Regions from separate parts of the Homo sapiens genome. Here regions 1 and 3 are each linked to region 2. Evidence: promoter capture Hi-C in human tissues and cell types (Jung and others, 2019). All regions are on one chromosome and are shown on one strand. The core of a region is centred on a gene start or on the middle of the fragment in contact, and the rest is flanking DNA. Distances in the headings are between cores, read along the strand shown.

Region 1 (3,872 bases), core at 896-3,395, 350 kb before region 2:
CTATCTGTTGTATTTTTGAATTTTAAACATAATACATATTAAGACATACAAAATAAAAAATTATAAATGATGATCTGAGAAATGGCAGTGGGCACCCTGACTGGACTCTTGCAGGTAGAGGACAGAGGCTGGGACTGCAGCAAGTGACTTGGGGAGGACGTGCATACTCCTTGTAGGGAGGGGAGACCAGCAAACTGGACAGATCTGATGCCTTGAGTCAGACCACACAGCTGCCTGTGCCAGTCTCTTCCTTCTTGAAGAATCACACAAAATGTGGGTGTGGCTGAGAGCTGAGATATTTATCCAATAAGTTCATTTATTAAATTTACTAATAAATACTAACAAAAAAATTTATTAGTTTTTTTCTTAATACAAAAATGGCATATTAATTGTAGAAAATTTATGAAGTGCATACAGTGAAAAAATTAATTATAATCCAATCATCAAGATACTGACATTTACATTTTAATAGCAGTCCTCAATTATTTACAAATATGTATAAAGTGTGTGTGTGCGTGTGCACACACATGCATGAGAGTGTGTATGTTTGCAGGTTGCTCAATGCATACTGCTTTGCAACCTACCTTTTTTCCAGGGAAGATTTCTTTTTTGAGAGGGCTGGATAGAGAACAGTGACAAAAAATGTTCTAAAATTTCTTCCTTTAGTGTTGCTTCTGAAAGATGTCAAGATTAGGATTGAGAATTGTGGTCATTGAACAGACTCATCCTCTCTTTCATGCATGTATAACCCAGTGTTCCCTCCATCCTGACTGGCCGAAGTGTATGGTCTAAGGTTCCATGAACTTAGTGACACTTAGCCCCTAAGTGCCCATGTTGGCAGGTAGCCCAGACTTTGCAACTCTGGGGCCCACTAAAGATTGATTCCTTCTTTACCCTGTATCTTCACTCGCCTTCTCTCCAATGGCTGATTTCCATCAGCATTCAAACATGCTCAAGCCTCTCTATTCATCACTCATCACCTTGGTTCTTTCTTCAACATATTCTACTCAGTAAATGGCATCCACAGAGTTGCTCAGGTCAAAAAGCTAGGACTCAATCTTAATTCTTGTTTTCCTTTCTCCTACGTTCAATCCGTGAACAAATTCTGCAGGCTTTATCTCTAGAGAGTACCTCTGATGCCTCTACTTTTCTGCATCTTCACTGTTACCACTCTAGAGTAAGCCACGATTGATATTTGCCTAGATATGCGAGTAGTCTGCTTAACTAGTTTCTCTACAGCCTCTTCTCCACATAGCAGCCAGTGAAGCCTCTGACAAACCCAAGCCCAATATGTCTTTCCTCTGCAGAAAGCCCATCAATGGCTTCCTGCACATTGAGAAGAATACTACATTCTTTATCATAACCTACAAGGCCCCTTCATAGGCAGGTTCTGTCCACATTTCTGCATTTGCCTCATTTACTTTCTCCTTCATTTGCTCTGGCTTTTTTACGGTTTTTTGAAAATTCCCATTTCTTTTGCTGCAAAGGAAGCTTCATCAGGGAAGAGACTGTGACTGTCTTCTTCATTGCTGAAGCATCACTGTCTATCCCAGTTCCTTGAGCACAATAAGTATTCTATGCGTGTTTTTTAACAAGTAGATGAATTTATGACCTAGTGAGGATGATCAAAATAAGTGCATAATCTTTAAAAATGCAAAGTCAAATGTGGTAAGTTTCTTAAGAGAGACTTGATTTAAGTAGTCTGGGAATTTATGGAGGGGTGCTGTGGTTTGAATTTTATGTCTCTTCAAAATTCACGTTGAAACCAAATCCCCAATTTGGTGACATTAAGAGGTGGGCCTTTAGGAAGTGATTAGGTCATAAGGGTTCCACACTCATGAATGGGATTAGTGCAACTGTAAAAGAGGCTTGGGCCAGGCATGGTGGCTCATGCCTGTAATCCCAGCACTTCGGGAGGCCGAGGTGGGCAGATCACTTGAGGCCAGGAGTTTGAGACCAGCCTGGCCAATGTGGTGAAACTCCATCTTTACTAAAAATACAAAAATTAATGGACATGTTGGTGCACACCTATAGTCCCAGCTACTCGGGAGGCTGAGGCACGAGCATCTCTTGAATCTGGGAGGTGGAGGTTGCAGTGAGCTGAGATCATGCCACTGCATCCAGCAGCTTGGGCAACAGCAAGACTCCGTCTCAAAAAAAAAAAAAAAAAAAAAAAAGAGGCTTGAAAGAGCCTGTTTCCCCTTCTCCTATGTGAGGACACATCTATGAGGAAAAGGCCTTCACCAGACACTGAATCTGCTGGCACCTTGATCTTGGACTTCCAGTCTCCAGAACTGTGGACAATAAATTTCTGTTGTTTATAAATTACCCAGTTTAAGGCATTTTGTTATAGCAGCTTGAGCAGATTAAGACAAGGATGTGCTTACTCTGGATGGCAGTCACTGAGGACTTATGGATGAGGAAATATTTGAGCTGGATATCAAGGGTACATAAGACTCTCCAGGCTCGAGTAAAGCAGCAGAGTCTGGAGAGGGGGACAACTAATCCAGAGGAATCAGGAAATAAAGTATATGTAACATACCTGTACAGATTAGGGCTGGAAAGGTAATTCTGGATCTGATCATGTGGTGTCTGTTCTGGTCATGCTGAACATGCTAGGCTAAAATGTTTAGACAGTTCATCTCATGAAGGAAGCACCTCCCTATGCCCCAGGGAGCAAAATGATCACAGACATAAGGAGAAACATTGGTTCATGTTCTTAGATGGTCAACAGTGGAATGAATGAAAAAAGAAGGAACAGATGTGAGGTTTACCCTTTAAAAACCATCAATAGGAATTGGTAACTGATAGAAAGTGACTAAGTATGAGATGAAAAACCAAATGCAGACTTGAGCTTGGGTGACTCAGAAAATTGATAGAAATAGAAAATCATGAAAAAAGGATTTTTTGTGTGTGTGTGTGTGACAGAGTCTCACTCTGTCACCCAGGCTGGAGTGCAGTGGTGCGATCTTGGCTCACTGCAACCTCCACTTCTCTAGGTTCAAGTAATTCTCCTGCCTCAGCCTCCTGAGTAGCTGGGATTACAGGCATGAACCACCATGCCTGGCTAGCTTCTGTATTTTTCGTAGAGATGGGGTTTTGCCATGTTGTCTAGGCTGGTCTCAAACTTCTGATCTCAGGTGATCCACATGCCTTGGTCTCCTAAAGTGTTAGGATTACAGCTGTGAGCTACCATGCCTGGCCTGGGTTGAATCTTGTTGAGTTTAAGGTAGCAATGAGCCATCCAGTTTGTGATGGAATTTGGGAGTAGAGGAAAGATAGAGATATAATTTTCACTAATTAATTCATTTGTCCAGTGATTATTTCTTGAGCATCTAGCATATGCCAAGTATGGTATCAGGCATTGGGAAAAGCATAAATCCTGTCCCTAGGAGTTCCCTTTTTCTATATCTAGCTTTTTGACCCAGAAAGACATGCCTCTGTTGATACAGAATTTCAAATGATCAAGATCAACAATGTAATTATTTGAATGTGCATGGATGTTTATATTTCTCAGTTCTGCTATGATTATAGGCTTGTATTCATAGTTTCATTATGCATATATAATTGCTCATGATTTGTAACTTAAAGTTAACAGAAATCCTAATTTGATGATTAGAAGAAACAATTTGAGGATCTACATGTGTCCTTCACTTTTTTTTTTTTGAGACAGAGTCTCGCTCTTTCGCCCAGTCTGGAGTGCAGTGGCACAATCTCGGTTCACTGCAATCTCCCCTTCTGGGTGCAAGCGATTTTCCTGCCTGAGCCTTCTGAGTAGCTGGGACTACAGGTGTGCTCCACTAGGTCCAGCTAATTTTTGTATTTGTTTTTTTTGGGTAGAGATGGGGTTCCACCATGTTGGCCAGGCTGAT
Region 2 (4,138 bases), core at 1,009-3,508:
TCCTACACTATCATGTTAATTCCAAATAGAATATTAATTCATGGGATAAGTCACAGAAGGCTCATATAGAAGATATATTAGGTAAGTAAGTGTAGGTCGGATACCACGGATGGATGTAATAGCCAGCCCCACACCTGCCAGATAAAGTGTTTACTCATCTGTACATTCAAGGGTATACACACACACATTCATAAACAAAGTATTATCTACCTAAACAGGAAAAGACAAGGCCACAGGAAGACCGTATATTTATTATAAAGTAAAAATCTGGTAAATTGTATACATGTTTTTTTAAGAAAAAAAGGATTACTTCTAATCAGCCCTCAATTTACAGTAGCTAGTCAATTTCCCTGGTTTTATTTTCACTGTTATCTCAGTGTTTTGAATGGGGTCTTCAGTGCTTTTTCTTGTCATTGACCAAAGCTTATCTTGTATGGAGGTGCAGAGGCTAGGAGAATATCTGCTTTTACCAATAACCACACCAAGGTGATAAATGAGATTTCCTCCTTTTAGAATATTCTAACTTAGAAAATCAAAGAGTTAGTTCAAATATGAACCAATACATTCATTCATTGTGGGGCAGAGTGTATTGGAGAGGCCACCAGGCTAAGAGTGAGGGGGCTTAAACTTTAGTCCCCAGCACTAACTAGCTTGATACCCTTAGCTGAGACACTTCTCTGTGTGGTTTCTCCTGGAAACGAAGCTGTGGAATGGATGATCTTCTAGTTCCCCTCCGACTCTAAAATTCTGCAGTATGCGACAGGCTGCAGCAGCATGTGACTAACACAAGGATCAGGGAACGTTACAGTCAACAAATGCAAATGGAGATGAGTTAGGACATTCTGTGTTTTGTGGGTATTATCTGAGGTTCAGCTTAAACTTAGTTTTCAATGGCTATCAATGAAGGAAGCCTAAAAACTGGGCCAATGAGATTTTAATGTTCAAGTCTTAAGTGGTTATGATTAGATCATAACCTAATTGTGAAAATCACAGTGACTTCTGTACAGAAGTTGAATGTGTGCTATGAAGTTTATGTGCAAGTATATTTTGCTTTTATCTGGATCTCTCAGTTTTACATGCTTTGGGGACTATTACTACTTTCATAGAGTGTGAGAGTATTGACCTTACTGCTGTGATATATTTATTCGTGATGTGTTGGAGGCCAAGGAGAGTTAGAGTTGTGTCCTGTGGATAGAGAATCCATCTCCTCCTCTTCTTGTCGATGGCTGTTGGGGTCCCCTGTGGGTAACTGACCTACCTGTCAGAACATGGACTCTTACTCCCACTGAGGGAGCATCGCCATCAACTCTGACCTTGCAGGCAGAGCTCAGCGTGCCTGCCTGAGCTGTCCTGTGCTCCAACTCCGGGGTCGCAGTGTGCTAAGACCCAAGGGAGTCCACATGGGGATGAGTCAGGGCCTGGCGCTGGCCCCATGCTCCGCCCCACTGGTAAACAGAACAGTTCTTTGCCGTCACTCAGAGCCTCTCAGGGCCCCAAGACTCCAGGAAGAAACAAGTATTGTAGAAGCCAAAACCCCAAGGCAAGGTAAAGAAAACAGAACTGTCCGCATCCCCAGCAATGATTTCACTGGCAGGAGTTGCTGGGGGCGGGGTGGGGGGTCCGGTATATGTTCCAGCAGAGCTGTTTTACTTACTTCTCAACCAAAAGGCCCTTCTCTTTTACTCTTTATAGGGGTATCCTTTTGCCTTTCAAGATTTGAACTTTCAAAACTTGACCTTAGAGTCAGTCTTGCTTGCTAACCCATAATACAACTTTGCACCTTTTATTACTTTTGTTTGTTTTTGTACTGGCTTCTATTAAAATACTTCCTTAGTTAACTTATTTTTGTTTACTCTACCCTGTCATCCGGGGAGGAGCTATTGAAAGAAAAAAACCTCTAAATAGAAATATATCACCAGCAGCACAAGTGGACTACAGCCTCGGAAATGTCCTCACCGTCCGGCTTCATGGCAAGCAGCCTGGCTGTTGGCAAGATGCGCCCAGCTCTGCTTCTGCTCGTGTGGAACCTTACATTACCCTAACGCAGCTGGGGCACAAGCCGTCTGTGCTTATACTATTCTTCTTAAGCTTGGAGACACACTCACCTTGAGATCTCTCCTCTTTTTCATCTAGACACTGGCAAGTCCTGTTCTGAGCTTAGCAATGCCAAGTACCTGAACTGGAGGCATGGCTGGCTGATCCCTTCTAGCTCCCTCCAGTAGTGTCCCACCTTGGCTATATCAGTAACTGCGCCTCCTGTTATTTCTCCTTCCCAGTTGTCAAGGTCAAACCTGGGCTGGATATTGTGATGTCACAGAGTGGAATCCTCACTCCTCCAGATGGTCCAGCTGAGGCCCTCTTGGACAACACTTCCTCTCCTGCCCATGGTGGGAGGTTGGGAAGGACATTCCCCCATTTCCATTTGCTCTGCCATTCAAAACCTTGTGAGGGCCCTCAGGGAAGAATCCCTTTGCAGGTCATAAACTGACCTGCAGAATTATGGGATCTTAACTGTGGGGAGAGACCTAGAAGACCGGCTAGTGACCAGATTCTCATCTAACTCCTTTTTTTTTGCAGATGAGGAAACTGAGGCCCCACGTGGTGAAGACAATTTTTACCCGAATCCACCCACAACAAGAGACCATTTGGATAATGTACATTATGGGAAGAGAACAGAGTCTCAGTGAAGATCATGTTTCCCCAGCAACACAGGTGCCAGGAGTAGCTGGCTCTGGTCCCAGCCCAGACTCAGAAATCCTGAGCCACCAGACCATTTCTAGATTAACAAGTAAGGTGACTTCTGAGCAACTAATGTTTTCATTGAGATTTGATGATAAGCAGCAAAGCTCAAATGAAAGTCCAGAGTTAGTGTTGGCAGGGCGAGATGGCTCATGCCTGTAATCCCAGCACTTTGGGAGGCTGAGGTGGGAGGATCACTTGAGCCCAGGAGTTTGAGACCAGCCCGAGCTATATAGTGAGACCCTATCTCTACAAAAAATACAAAAATTAGCTGGGCGTAGTTGTGCGTGCCTGTAGTTCTAACTACTCAGGAGGCTGACAGGGGATGATCGCTTAAACCCAAGATATCGAAGCTGCAATGAGTTGAGATTGCACCACTGCACTCCAGCCTGGACGGCAGAATGAAACCTTGTCTAAAACACACACACACACACACACACACACACACACACACACACACACACACACACACACACAGAGTATTGATTACAGCGCTATACCAGGTTCTAGTGTTGAGTAAGGGACAGGGAGGAGCAATCTGTAAAGAAATAGAGTCTCACTGGAATTTCATTCTTCATTATTTCATACCCTTCACTTTTTCTAGACGCTAACCCCATATGATACTAAAAAGTATCTGTATTGCATCAGACGACGTATCTGTGAAGTCAGAGAATTGTGCTTTAAGAATCTCTCAAGAGGAGAACATATATTGGGCTTTCATAATACCAATAACATTTTACATCATGCTTCATTTACAAGCTATTTTCACACATATCACTCTATTTAATCTTCACAACTTGGTGAGATAAACAAAGTATTATTTTCAGTATAATTTTCTGGATGAGAAAATTATAGCTTAGAGAAGTTGTGTCTTGCACGAGATCACAAAGCTAATTAAGTGGAAAGGTTACTTAACATTAACTACAAACCAGATCTTCCACCAAGCCTTTTCCCCACCACAGGGCTTTGCTGGTTGGGGAGAAATTGTCATTTGGTCCCAGAACACACTTGAAGGCCACTGCCTTAAGCAACCCTTTGAGTAACAAGGAAGAAAGTATTCCCGTAGGTCATAAATACTGCTTTACTAACTTCCTAAATGTCTTCATAAAATCTTAGGGAAATGGTTAATGGACACTAATTTTAAACTTTAAAATAATATAATTATTGCCCTTTCTTCCAACAATTCCACATCTGTGAATTCTCCTAAGAGAACCATTATGGATATGAAAAATATTTAGCTACAAGAGGTTTTTTGAAGCACTGTTTATAACAGAAAACAAATATAAAGCTCAGCATTGGAAAAGTGGTAAAATGGATTATGCTGAACTCATGAAAATAATGTCAGGGTTTCCCACACTTTGATTATTCATGTGGCATCTTCAGAATATTGCCATCTGCA
Region 3 (4,215 bases), core at 843-3,342, 320 kb before region 2:
AAGCAGATGCAAGGACTAGATGATTCATAAGGTAACCTCAATACTTAATGAAGACCTAGGCCAGGCGCAGTGGCTCATGCCTGTAATCCCAGCTCTTTGGGAGGGCCAAGGTGGAAGAATCACTTGAGCCCAGGAGTTTGAGGCCAGCCTGGGCAACATAGCAAAACCCTGTCTCTACAAAAAAAATATAAAAAATTAGCCAGGCGTGGTGATGCGTGCCTGTAGTTCTAGCCTCTTGAGAAGCTGAAGTGGGAGAATTGCTTGAGCCAGGGAGGTTGAGGTTGAGGCTGCAGTGAGCTGTGATCGCACCACTGCATTCTAGCCTGAGTAACAGAATAAGACCCTGTCTCAAGAAAAAGAAAAAATTAATGAAGACTTGAGCGTGTATGCAACAGAGGTCAATGATCTTTCACATAATCTTCAGCATCACTTGCTCCTGGGCCTGGGGGTGACCGGCCACAGGGCTCCCTGCCACATTTCCTGCGGTGTCTCCTGCTGATGGGATCCCAGCATTCAGCCGCTCCAGAGACGTCCATTTACCTGGGCTCAGCTGGTCCCTTCTAGTTACTTCCACACACAATTCTCAGAGTTTAGGAATTCGCTTTGAGCAAGGCAAGGCACTGATTGGTAATTGTATTTTTTTTTTTGTAATTGTATTTGTTTTCTAGTGTTGCTGTGACAATTTAACACAAACTTAACAGCTTAAACAATACAAATTTATTATCTTACAGTTCTGGGATGTCAGAAGTTCCAATGTGGGTCCCACAGAGCTAAAATCAAGCTGTTGGCAGAACTACTTTCAGTTCTGAAGGCCCCGGGGGAGAATCTGTTTCTATCCCTTTTCCAGTGTCCTTGGCCCATGGCCCCTTCCTCCGTGTGGCTGGCAGAGCCTTCCTCTTGTTGCCTCTCTCTGCACCTCCTTCTGTCATCCTGTCTTTCTCTCTCCGCAGTTGGAAAGGGTCTCTACTTTTAAGGGTCTGCCAAGATAGTCTTATTGGTTTAGGAGCTTCAAACTTAGTCACATCTGCAAAGTCCCTTTGTCATGTAAGGTGACATATTCACAGATTCCAGGGATTAGGATGTGGACATTTTCTGGGGAAGGGGGAGATTATTCTGCCTACCACAGGAATGAAGCTGAAAATGAGATGTCTGATGTCATCAGTTTAGAGTGCAAACAATGTCACCCATAGAGACTCAGATGTCACCCCTAATTGGTACACCTGAGGCCTGATCTGACTTTTGAGTAGGAGGTTCTGGGTCTGAGGTGAGGGTGGGAGGTGAGCCCTCCTGTGACCAGTTCCTGATTCCCAGTGATTTAATCCAGGCTGTGAGCCTTGGTTCATTTTGCCTTGGAGAGAGTTAAGTGTTCAGTACCCTAAGCACACTGTCACTGCCCCGGCGTGGGCATCTGGTAGGGTCATTCAAGGGCTGTCTGCTGCAGAAAGTGAGGTGGTGTGGAGGTTGCCACATACAAAGCCTGCTGGCACTGCCACTGCTGCTTTGGCAGTACTGACTCAGGCAGGGTGGGAGAGTAGTGCCTCCTTCACTCATGGAAGCCTCATGCCTAAGTAGCCCAAGGATCTCAATGAGAACTTCCTTTAATGATGTGGCTTTTTTAGTCTGTTCATGGATCAACAGGCACTTCCCTGTGGTTAGCTGCCTCTACGGCCTGGTGAGATTCCCTTTGACCATCTGAGCCCTAACACCAGGGTGACCCTGAGGGTACTGCTTTCCTAACTTTCATAACTTCCATAAGTATGGCAACTTCAAAGCAGGAAGCAAATGAGATGGATTTCCCAATTCCTTCTTTTTCACAAAGCCCCTGGGCTTCTTATGCAAACTTATCCACCCCTCAGGCAACCTTCAAGCTTAATCCATTAATGGAATGTGTGTGGGGACAGGGAGTGGGGCCCTGGTGCTAGCGTGTTTGTTGAGTGACTCAAGGGGCCATTTTGGTGACTTGTCCAGAAATAAGCAAGGCTTCAGGACAACTCAGTGTCACTACTATCAAAAACCAAACAACAACTGGCAATTTCCAAATGATGATTCTTTCCATAAAGAATATTTAAAATTCCATTTTGCTGGGCATTACACTAGGGCAGCAGTCTTCAAACTTTTTGTCTTAAGACCTTAGTCCACTCTTACAAACAATTGAGTCTCTCTGCTTTTGTTGATGTGAGTTATATCTATTGATATTTATAATATTGAAATTAAAATTGAGAAATTTAAAAAGTTACACATGCATTCATCTTAATAATAAAAAACTCATTTTGTGTTAATATAGTTAACCCATTTCTGTGAAATCTAACTATATTTGTCCAAATACAAATTTGTGAGAGGAGTTGCCTTGTTTTACATTTTTGCCACTTTGTCAGCTGAAGAATAAGAGTCATAAATTTGAAAAGGAGAGCTTTATTTCTCATAAAGCGTTGCAACCTGCAGGGGGGCCATTCTGACAGGCTGGGAAGCATAGCCTTCAGTAAGAAGCTGGACAGACACCTCGAGGGAGGAGCAAAGGAAGCAGGAAGTTATGCTAAGGGGAATGGCTTAATATATATAACATATATAAGACAGAGGAGGAGTCATGAATATTTATGAAAGGAGAAATGTGCACATGTGCAATTGAGCTTCATGCCTCATTCATGGGTCCCATGTACAAAACATGGCGGTGTTAGGATGATCTGATGGTGGAATTTTTGGCCCTCTGATGTCAAAAGGCGAGGCAGAGGACACAAAAACCTTTACTATGCATTCTCTATAGGCTGGCCAGAACCGCTCCGTGGTCAGTGGTCTCTTAGCAGGAAGAAATGCTGTTGGTTGGTATGCCAAAACAACAAAAGGAGGGGCAGCGTCAGGCAGTTGGTTAAAGCAGTGGTGGAGTCCTTTTTTTTTTTTTTTTTAAGACATGGTCTTGCTCTGTCACCAGGCTGGAGTACAGCGGCTGATCATAGCTCCCTGCAGCCTCTGCCTCCTGGGCTGAAGCTATCCTCCTACATCAGCCTCCTGAGTAGCTGGGATTACAGGTATGTGCCACCATGCCCAGCTAGGTTTTTGTAGAGACAGGGTTCTCCATGTCTCCCGGGCTGGTCTTGAACTCCTGGGCTCAAGCAATCTTCCCTCCTTGGCCTCCCAAATTTCTGGGATTACAGATGTTTGCCACTGTGCCAGTGGAATCTTTTGAAAGGGTTGGCTTCTGTTTAGCCCTTAGGGAAGAAAGTATAATTCTAGTTGTGAGGGAGGGGGTATAACAAGAGGCTTGTCTGACCTCCTATCCTATCATGGCTGAGAACTCAGTTTTCAAGGTTACTCTGGGCCAAAAAGAGTTGGTTGGGGAGCTTAGGATTTTATTTTTATTTCTCAGCTTTATGTTTGGCATTGAAGGAAACCAGAGAACTTCATCGCCAAATATGCCTCTTTGACATAAACATTTTTGAGCTAGAGACAATTTGGAAGCAGCAATTATAAAAAAGGACTCTCTGAACTTTCCTTTCTCACATGTGTCAGGCCGTAAAAATTCTTGTGAAAAATATGCAGGGGGCGCTTCTTTCACCCCTTTCTGCCTGATTAGCTCAGAGACTGATGCCACTCGAGGCAGAAAAATCTGGGAGCAGACTTTACCACATTCCCATTGTTTTCCCACCTTTTGGGAGCCTGAAGCTGTTTATGCCTTTGTCTTCTCACTTCTAAATGTATTGTTGTTTGTTAGAGATGCTATATAAGCTGGGACCTTGACCCATCATTTTGTGAGATACTTTTGAACTGAAGTTTCTCCTGTGTTATGAGCACAGCACATGTAGATAGAAACACTTGTTTTTTTTTTCTTTCTTGTTATTCTGCTGTTTATTAACAGGAAACTGTCCCAGTGTAATTGCCCGATGGGTTCTTCTTGCCTGCTGCACAGACAAAGCCAATGTACCAAGAAAACAGTGTTGCAGTAGAGAAAGAGTTTAATTATCACAGGGCCTGCCAAACAGGAGGACGAGAGTTTATTACTCAAATCAGCCACCCTGAAAGCTCAAAAGCTTGGAGGCTAGGATTTTTAAGGATACTCTGGTGGGCAGGGTCTAGGAAATGGGCACTGCTGATGGGTTGGGGATAAAATCATAGGAGTGTTGGAACTATATTCATGCTGTGAGTCGGTTTCTAGAGGGAGATTATGGGACTGATTGAGTCACAGGTCTTGGAGGGTTTGGGTGGCATCAGTTGGTCTGTCTA

Evidence for each region. The method cuts DNA at HindIII sites, captures the fragments that hold promoters and counts their contacts. A contact is called where the count stands out against the background at its distance.
Region 1: a contact is called between a fragment that was not itself captured here and the fragment with the promoter of DNAJC5B in region 2, in 2 of the 25 tissues and cell types used here (aorta and thymus).
Region 3: a contact is called between a fragment that was not itself captured here and the fragment with the promoter of DNAJC5B in region 2, in 1 of the 25 tissues and cell types used here (mesenchymal stem cells).

Annotation. Positions count from the first base shown.
Region 1 is chr8:66,370,514-66,374,385 of GRCh38, reverse strand. The region is part of intron 1 of LOC102724687 (a long non-coding RNA gene); the gene reads left to right. Among named protein-coding and RNA genes, the nearest start is that of RRS1-DT, 57 kb to the left of the region's middle. The HindIII fragment of the contact is 6,849 bases long and covers 1-3,872 here.
Region 2 is chr8:66,019,673-66,023,810 of GRCh38, reverse strand. It overlaps DNAJC5B (DnaJ heat shock protein family (Hsp40) member C5 beta), which reads right to left and starts at 2,258. Exons shown (of 6, transcript NM_033105.6): 1 at 2,106-2,258. LOC105375883 (a long non-coding RNA gene) reads left to right here and starts at 2,330. Exons shown (of 7, transcript XR_929008.3): 1 at 2,330-2,387; 2 at 2,578-2,788. The HindIII fragment of the contact is 3,729 bases long and covers 1,257-4,138 here.
Region 3 is chr8:66,342,124-66,346,338 of GRCh38, reverse strand. The region is part of intron 1 of LOC102724687 (a long non-coding RNA gene); the gene reads left to right. Among named protein-coding and RNA genes, the nearest start is that of RRS1-DT, 85 kb to the left of the region's middle. The HindIII fragment of the contact is 4,941 bases long and covers 1-4,215 here.